3 separate regions of the Homo sapiens genome follow, and all the other regions are linked to region 1. The links are contacts of gene promoters, found by promoter capture Hi-C in human tissues and cell types (Jung and others, 2019). All regions are on one chromosome and are shown on one strand. Each heading gives the region's core, a stretch centred on a gene start or on the middle of the fragment in contact. The rest is flanking DNA. Distances are from core to core; before and after follow the strand shown.

The links. The method cuts DNA at HindIII sites, captures the fragments that hold promoters and counts their contacts. A contact is called where the count stands out against the background at its distance.
Region 2: a fragment that was not itself captured here is called in contact with the fragment with the promoter of CLDN19 in region 1 in 3 of the 25 tissues and cell types used here (mesendoderm cells, pancreas and spleen).
Region 3: a fragment that was not itself captured here is called in contact with the fragment with the promoter of CLDN19 in region 1 in 12 of the 25 tissues and cell types used here (H1 embryonic stem cells, IMR-90 fibroblasts, adrenal gland and 9 more).

The regions. Positions count from the first base shown.
Region 1 is chr1:42,738,914-42,741,664 of GRCh38, forward strand. It overlaps CLDN19 (claudin 19), which reads right to left and starts at 1,323. Exons shown (of 5, transcript NM_148960.3): 1 at 928-1,323. The coding sequence starts at 1,150. RefSeq lists an enhancer at 2,680-2,751. The HindIII fragment of the contact is 9,679 bases long and covers 1-2,751 here.
Region 2 is chr1:42,638,830-42,641,580 of GRCh38, forward strand. The region is part of intron 16 of CCDC30 (coiled-coil domain containing 30); the gene reads left to right. The region is part of intron 1 of LOC124904162 (a long non-coding RNA gene); the gene reads right to left. Among named protein-coding and RNA genes, the nearest start is that of PPIH, 18 kb to the right of the region's middle. The HindIII fragment of the contact is 8,684 bases long and covers 1-2,751 here.
Region 3 is chr1:42,673,270-42,676,020 of GRCh38, forward strand. All of the region lies in intron 9 of PPIH (peptidylprolyl isomerase H), which reads left to right. LOC124904162 (a long non-coding RNA gene) reads right to left here and starts at 2,526. Exons shown (of 2, transcript XR_007066034.1): 1 at 2,451-2,526. The HindIII fragment of the contact is 8,469 bases long and covers 1-2,751 here.

The sequences.
Region 1 (2,751 bases), core at 73-2,572:
CTCCAGGGTCCCCTCAGGTTTGGTAGGTGGAAGAGCTGGGGGTATCTGAGGCCCAGCTCAACTCAGCCTGAGCCCCGCAGCAACCCCTCCCCAGCAGCCATTCAGACAACAGTCACTTTCCCCTCTGCCCATGGCAGCTGGAAGCTTGCCTCTTCACGGGTGCATGGGTCCATCCTGGGCCCTGGGGGGTGCTCAGGAGACCTGGGTCCCTCAGCGAGGCTAGATGACCTGCCTGAACTGACCTGCCTGAACTGGCACAATGGGGCTGGTTGAAGGCCGCTCTGCTCCCAGCTCCCATGGGGAGCAGATTGTCCCTGGGGGCTCCTGGGCAGATTGCAGGTGGATCACCTCCACCCCAGAGTTAGAACTTCGGCGGTGCCTGTCAGGCTCATCTCCACACCCCAGAAGGAGAGGGACTGCATGCAGACACACCTGTCTGTGCATGCATGTGCACGTGTGTGCGTGTGCATGCGTGTTTGCATGCATGTGCATGCACCCATATGCTGGCACACAGGCCTGGGAGCAGGACTAGGGAGCAGGTGTGCATCATACAGTGTGTGTCTGTCTACTGACTGTGGGGAGAAGTGGATGAAGGGTCTTAACTGAGTCTTTCAGAGTGCCACAGGTATTAGTATTCCCCTTTAGAGATGAGAACATCACAATGGGAAGAGGTTTGGTGACTAGTTCAAAGTTATAGTGACAGAGCAGGAATCTGGACCCACAGCCGCCAGACCCTAGAGCCCTCCCCTCCCACAGGGCAGCAGGCTGGCCTGGACCGTCAATGGGCACAGGGCAGTAGTGGGGGAATTGTAGAGCGGAGGCTGGAGGTTGGAGCCCAGCGCAGATAGCAGACTGTGAGGAAAACTTGCTCCAGACTCCCCTGCTGTTCCCACCTCCCATCTCCCACCCCGCCGGCCTGGGGCCTACCGTCCAGGGCGAGCAGCGAGTCGTAGAGCTTGCACTGCACTTGCCCAGTGCTCTGGGAGGCGCAGGACATCCAGAGCCCTTCATAGAGGCCCACGGCAGTGATGATGGCGTCGCCTGCGTAGGAAGACTGCTTCCACTGTGGCAGGGCTGTGCTAGCAATGATGCCCACCCAGCCACCCAGGGCCAAGAAGTAGCCCAGGAGCTGGAGGCCTGAGTTGGCCATGGCCCAGGAGAGAGGACCGAGGGTCCCAGGACTCAGAGCTGGGCCAGGGTGCCAGCAGGGGCTTTGGTCATGGCCAGGTGGGAGGAGCAGCTGGGCAGGGGGAGCAGCGAGAAGGAGGGTCAGAGGCAGAGAAGGAGAGGTGGTGCGGCGGCAGCGGCTGGAGCAAAGGCAGTGGCTCTGGACTCCAGAATGCAGGGGGAGGCCCAGGGGCTGGAAAAGGCCAGGGCCCGCCCACAGCAGCCGCCTAAGCCAGAGCAGGGTCCCCAGCAAAGCTCATGCCCAGCCCCCTGGGGGCGGAGGGCCGGCCCATGGCCCAGGTGGTGTCCCTGCCCCGCCCCGTTCCGCAGGGATAGGGAAGGGAGGGGCTGAGAGGAATGACCCAGCTGCCCTCTGGGCCTTTCCCCACAGGGAAACCCCTTTAGGAACCTGATTCGGGTGTCCTAAAATTCGGATAATCCCTAACCCAAACACCAGCCCTGGGAGGATGGACTTTGCTCTTGCAAGGCTGATCTAACCCTTGGGGTTTTCTGCCCTTTGACTTTAGGACAGAAGGGAAAGGAATGCCAGTTTGCAGCGGGTAAAACTAGAGTTAGATGTCAAGGATAACTTTTTGGCAGGGGCTCTGAAGCTGGATGTGGGGAGGCTGAGCTAGCGGTGGGGTGTTGGGAAGAGGGGTCATGGGTACCTGGGAGCTGTGTGTGCCAAAAATCAGGGAGGCCAGACCAGGAAATATGTACTGTGGGGTCTTTTTGAGATCTGAGGGGGACAGAAAAGGGGCCCTATCGAGGCTGGGCCAGCGCTGGCTGCCGGCCAGCAAGGGGCCTGGTGGGGAGCTGGGGAGACAGCCCCAACCTTCTGGCATCAGCCTGAAGGAAGGCGGATTGCTCAGCCCCTTAATCCCCTTGCTGGCTGGCTTAGTAGCTCCTGCTGGGACTGGAACACTGGGCCCTGGCCCCCAACTCTAGAGCAGCCTGGCGCGGAGCAGTGGCCTCTGCACATTCCCGGGGTTCAGGCTGCCCGCTCCGAGCACCCCCACCTCCCTCTTCTCTCTCCCAGTCTCTCTTGGTCTTCAGGAGTAGGGGAATGTTTAACTCTCTTCCACCTCATTAGCAATCCCCTCACGTTCAAGTGGGCCCCACTGCAGCGTGGGTGCAGAAGGAATGTCACAACCCTGCTTCCACTCCTGCCAGCCCCCCGCCGCCCCCTCCGTCCCCAACAGCCCACCCACCCTTCCTGGACTGCACTGGGGGAAGGCAGGGTCCTGCTGCAGACCCCTGCTGGCTTCCTCCCCCACAGCCCCAACCCCCCTCTGAAGGGACAAGTCCCCAGCCCGCTCTTGCATTCTTCACGTGGCTATGCAAACGAGAGGGTGCCAGGCGCTGAGCAGACAATGGCAGCCCTGTGTGCCCGCCCAGGGCGTAGGCCTCTGGTATGGCCTGCAGCTCTGGCCAGAGATGGGGGAGTGGTCTGCCATCTGAGGGTCAAGGGTGGGCACTGCTTGACCTGTGGTGGTGCACACTGGGACCCTCAGGCTCTCTGTGCTGGGAGGGTCAGAGCCACGTGGATCCGAGCACACACAGACCTGCTTCCTGGACGACCTG
Region 2 (2,751 bases), core at 159-2,658, 100 kb before region 1:
CATGCCATTGCACTCTAGCCTGGGGGACAAGAGCAAAACTCCATCTAAATAAATAAATAAATAAATAAAGAGTAAGAGAAAGAAAGGAAAAAAAAAAGTAGCAACCCTAGTTCATGGGTCCATCAGACATATCATCAGCCTATTTCTATATTATCAGTTCTTTTTCATACTTTTGCATTTTGCTTCTAGGCCAGAAAAACAGTCTTCTGCTTTCAACAGGCATGCTAGCTTTCTTCCTGACTACACTGGGTTGAATAGCGTCCCTCAAATTCATGTCCTAGAACCTTAGAATGTGACCTTATATAGAAATAGGGTCTTTGCAGATACAATTAGTTAAGTGAGATTATCCTGGATTAGGGTGAATCATAAATCTAAGATGATTGCTGTCCTTATAGGAAGAGGGGAAAACACACAGACAGACACAGACAGGGGAAGAATGCCTCATGATGATGAATTCAGAGACTGGAATGATACAGCTACAAGCCAAGAAATAGCAAGGGTTGCTGGCAACCACCAGAAGCTAGGAGAAAGGCATGCAACACAATCTCTCCTGGAGCCCCCATGAGTAATTAACCCTGACAACAATGTGATTTCAGATTTCTGTCACTCAAAACTATGAGAAAATGTTATGGCAGCCCTAGGAAACTAATGCACCTACCCAAAGAACCACAGGTCTTCATAAAATGTGCTGGAGCTCCCAAATAAGCAGAGGCTGAGAGAATAATTGGATCTTTTGCTCACTGCCATTGAAGGGTACTGTGGGCTTTGGCCTTAAATAGACTTGGATTCAAATTCTAGCCCTGCCTGTAAGCTTGGACAAGTCTCTGTGTATCACTTTCCTCATCTGTAAAATGAGGGAAATAATCCCTACCTTACATACACAAGGCTTTTGTGAGTATTAAAACATACAATTTCTAAAGTGGTACTTGGTACATACACATTTTTCATAGATGTTATTTTCCTTTTTTTGGTATATAATCTCTTAGAAGGGCCAGGTGTGGTGGCTCATCCCTGTAATCCCAGCTACTTGGGAGGCTGAGGCAGGAGAATTGCTTGAACCAGGGAGATAGAAGTTGCAGTGAGCCAAGATTGCACCATTGCACTCCAGCTTAGGTGAAAAGAGTGAAACTTCGTCTCAAAAAAAAAAAAAAAAAATCTTAGAAGAATGTTAATTGGTGGATTCATTGTTCACATGAGAAATTGTTGACAGAATTAGAACGACTTAGCCTAGAGAAGACTGATGTTAGAGCTTTTAATGCCACAGTGGTACAAACCTAGGAATTCTTATTTTATGTATATTTTAGGGCCCAAGGACCAGAGCACTGAGCATAAAAATGCCAGATTTCTTTCTAAGTCTCCAAAAAGTAATGCCACTTCTTTTGGCTTCATTCCTTCAGCTTTTTCTTTATATAATGAGTCAATTGAGACTTCTGTTGTGACCACTCAAACCAGACTTTCCCATTTTATCCTATTATCACAGCATGTGTCTGGAATTTTTGTTTGTTTTAAAAAATACAGTATTTCCCAAGGACAAGGTGTCAGTCACCTTCCTCATGCAGTACACTTTTTAATCCAGTTAGAGCTGTCTAGGGTTTATCTGTGGGATGATTGCTTCTATTCTCAATCCTTACCAATACATTATTAATTAAATGTCTTTAAATTATAGCAGGTCAGACTACCATTAGATATTGCCGGGTCCCTGAGATGGACTTTAAAATCTGGAATAGCTTTTTCGGAACATAATCTAATCAACATCCTACAGGTCTTTAATAATAGATGGATGGCCAGGCATGGTGGCTCATGCCTGTAATTCTAGCACTTTGGGAGGCCGAGGTGGGTGCATCATCTGAGGTCAGGAGTTTGAGACCAGCCTGACCAACATGGCAAAACCCCATTTCTACTAAAAGTACAAAAATTAGCTGGGTGCGGTGGTGGGCACCTATAATGTCAGCTACTCAGGAGGCTGAGGCAGGAGAATTGCTTGAACCCAGCGGGCAGAGGTTGCAGTGAGCCGAGATTGCACCACTGCACTCCAGCCTGGGTGAAAGACAAAACTTTATCTAAAAAAAAAATTAATAATAATAATAGATGGCCAGTCTTTTCTGAATGACCTACATTAGTATCTTATTTAAAAGAAACATGTAGGTTGGGCACAGTGTCTCATGCCTGTAATCCCAGTCCTTTGGGAGGCTGAAGCAGGAGGATAGTTCGAGGCCAGGAGTTTGAGACCAGCCTGAGCAACAGAGCAAGACCCTGTTTCTACTATTTTATTTTATTTTTTATCTTAAAAAAATTTTTTTGAGACAGAGTCTCATTCTGTCACCCAGGCTAGAGTGCAGTGGTGTGATCCTAGCTCATTGCAGCCTTGAACTCCACACATGGCTTTTGTGTGTGTGTGTGTGTGTGTGTGTGTGTGTGTGTGTGTGTGTGTGGAGACGGGGTCTCACCATGTTGACCAGGCTGGTCTCAAACTCCTGGGCTCAAGCAATCCTCCCACTTTGGCCTCCCAGAGTGCTGAGATTACAGGTGTGAGCCATGGCACCAGGCATCTGACTCTACAAAAAATTTAAAAATTAGCCAGCTGTGGTGGTTCATGCCTGTAGTCCTAGCTACTCAGGAGGCTGAGGCACATGATCACTTGAGCCCAGGAGTGTGAGGTTACAGTGAGCCATGATTGTACCACTGCACCCCAGTCTGGATGACAGAGCTAGATCCTGTCTAAAAAAACAAAAAAACAAAAAAAAACAAAAA
Region 3 (2,751 bases), core at 119-2,618, 66 kb before region 1:
CCACCGTGCCCAGCCCTTGGAAAACTTTTTATGATGAATTTGGTTATGTATAGCATAAATGAACCTCTACACTCAGGATTCTCCTGCTGTAGTCTGAATGGGTTGTTTGCTACTTACATGGACATGGGAGAGGGTGGCACCTCTCTTTTGAAAGCCCGAGTTCTGGCAGCTCTGCTAGTCTGATATGCTTACCCTCTTCCCTGTGATCCTCAAACCTGGTACCAGTACCAAATGGTAGAGAGCTTTCCTTAATTCATTGTTGCCTAGATTCTCCAACAGGTAATAATCATTTTGGGGCACTCGTTAAACCTACGAATTCCTAGATCCCTTCCCTGGAGTATTTGATTGAGTGGCTTTGGGGTGGGACCAGGATGTTATGTTTGTAACAAGTATCTCACATGCTTCTTAATAGAGAAGTGTGGGAAACACTACTTTAGTTAGTGGTGGGATGACTGTCTTTTATTTTAATATTTGGATCTTAGGAAAAAATACGGAATTAGCACAATACATCATTTTACAGTTATTACAGCTTATAGTGAGGCAATATTGAAGTTCAAATAGTGATTAGCTTAAAAAATAAATTGTACCTGTGGATGATAGATATTGTAACAGTTGTGAAGATGCTATTTGAATGACTAAGGTTTAGGAAACACTGTGTTTCATTCTAGAATTACCTATAGATGCGAGACATTCCCGTAGGGGAAGATTAGGAAATATGTGTTGGTGGCAGTTGGGCTGGTCCTCTATTCATTCCACAACTAAGCGCTGATGAATTAAGATAGTTCCCATGCTGCATATGAGGCTACAGATTTGAAAAGTCAGTTCCATCCTTCAAGGAACTCAGTCTCTTGGGAGAACTGACAATTACAGTACAATAAAGCCCTGTATTGGAGGTTTTAGAACAAGGTGAGGAAAGCATAAATGCCCGGATCTTCCCAGAGTGGTTGAGTAGACTACAGAAGAGATGATGCTTCAGTTTAGTACAAGAAAGAATATAACTTGTCAGGTGGCTAAAACTGGGCAGGGCATTCCAGGCAGAGGGAACAGCCTATGCAAAGTCACAAAGGCAGGAAACAGCAGGAAGTGTAGAGGAAGCTGCAAATAATTCAATATGACTGAAGCAGGAAGATATGAAAAGCAAATGGTGAGAAGGTTGGAGAGAGGCCAGGGCCAGTAGTGAAAGCCAGTGCCAAGTTTAGCAGTTCATATGTTATTCTGAGGGCAGAGGCTGACTTTCAGGCATGAAGTAATTTTTCCCTTTTGGGGAAGGAGTCCACTGTGCTCCTGAGATTCTCAAAAGGGGCACTGACCCTCCAAAAAAGAATCAGGCCAATATGAACCACTTAAGGATTTTCAGCAGAATACTGTAGATGAATTTTCATGTTCAGAAGATGATTCTAGCAGCATTGTGGAGGATGGGCTGGAGGCCAGTGAGGAGTCTACTGCAGTAGTAGTCCAGGCAAGAGAAAAGAGGTTTTACATGAAAATATGGGTCTGGGGAACACTGGAGATTTGGCAGCAAATATTTATGTGCCTGCTGGGCATGTGACACTGTATGTTCCCTGTCCTGAAACTCAGAAGCTCTGCCAGCTGAAAAGGCCAGGAGTGGAGAGAATGTCTGGCTCCAGTCCATTCCAGTCCAGTACAAAGGCAAAGCTGCTTGCATTGCAGCCAAGTCTTACACACGTAGAGGTTCCATTCTCTTCAGTGGAATACTATACAGCCTTAACAAAATAAAGAGGTAGATCTGGATGTGTTGGCAAGATTTCTAAGGTAAGTTAAGTGACAGTCAAGATGTAGTAATTTATGTAAGCATGTTACTGTTTATTTTGAATGACTTTCAGGAATCTCTGCAGTGATATATAGCAGACTGTGGATAATACTTCTGCAGAGTAGAGATAGCAAAGAGACTTTTCAGTTGCCTTATTTAAGCTTGAATTTTCTACCTTGAACATGTATCTTGTAATAGAAATACATACTGTTTATATGTAGTGTTAACTAATCCTAAATCCTCCCAGCACTTCCCAGGAGCCTGCCCACAGCTGTGGCTAACATCAGGTGTGAATCCATTGCTGATCCCTCCACCTCCTCTTCCAGGTCTAAGCCCAGACAGTGGGTGCTCCCACAGCACTTGGTTCATCTCTCCACTGTGGCATTTAATATACTGTATCACAAATATGTAAGTCTGTTTTTCTCTGGACTGAGAACTTGTTGAAGCAAGGATCATGCTGACTAACATAGTGCCTGGTATGACAGAGCTTAGGTCCTGGCACACCATGCAGCTTACAAAGTACATTTATACATTTTCATACACTTTGCTTGAGGGCCCACAGTTAAACTTCAGTCTGTGCCTGCAGTACGATGCCAGTACCCATTGTCCACTGGAGCAAGGTGTGGCATGTTTGAGGAATGGCAAGAGGAGGGGGACAATAGTATCTGGGTGTACTTACTCTGTTCTCTTAGTATAGCTTGCTCGACTTCAAGGCCATAAACCCAGAGTGTGGACTTCCCTTTCTCTTTACCTCTGGGACCGAAACCTGCAAGGAAGAAGGATTGCTTTTTGTTCTGGACCTCCACAGAGAGCCATCAGAGTCTGACAAAAAGGACAAAGGCTTTGGAGCCAAGTAGACCAGGAAGTCTCATCACTGTCTAATTCTGTGACTTCAGTCAAGCCATGAAACCCCTTGGGACCCTACTCCTTTGCATAATTAGATAATATATAATGCATGGAGTTGTGAAGGGCAAATAAAT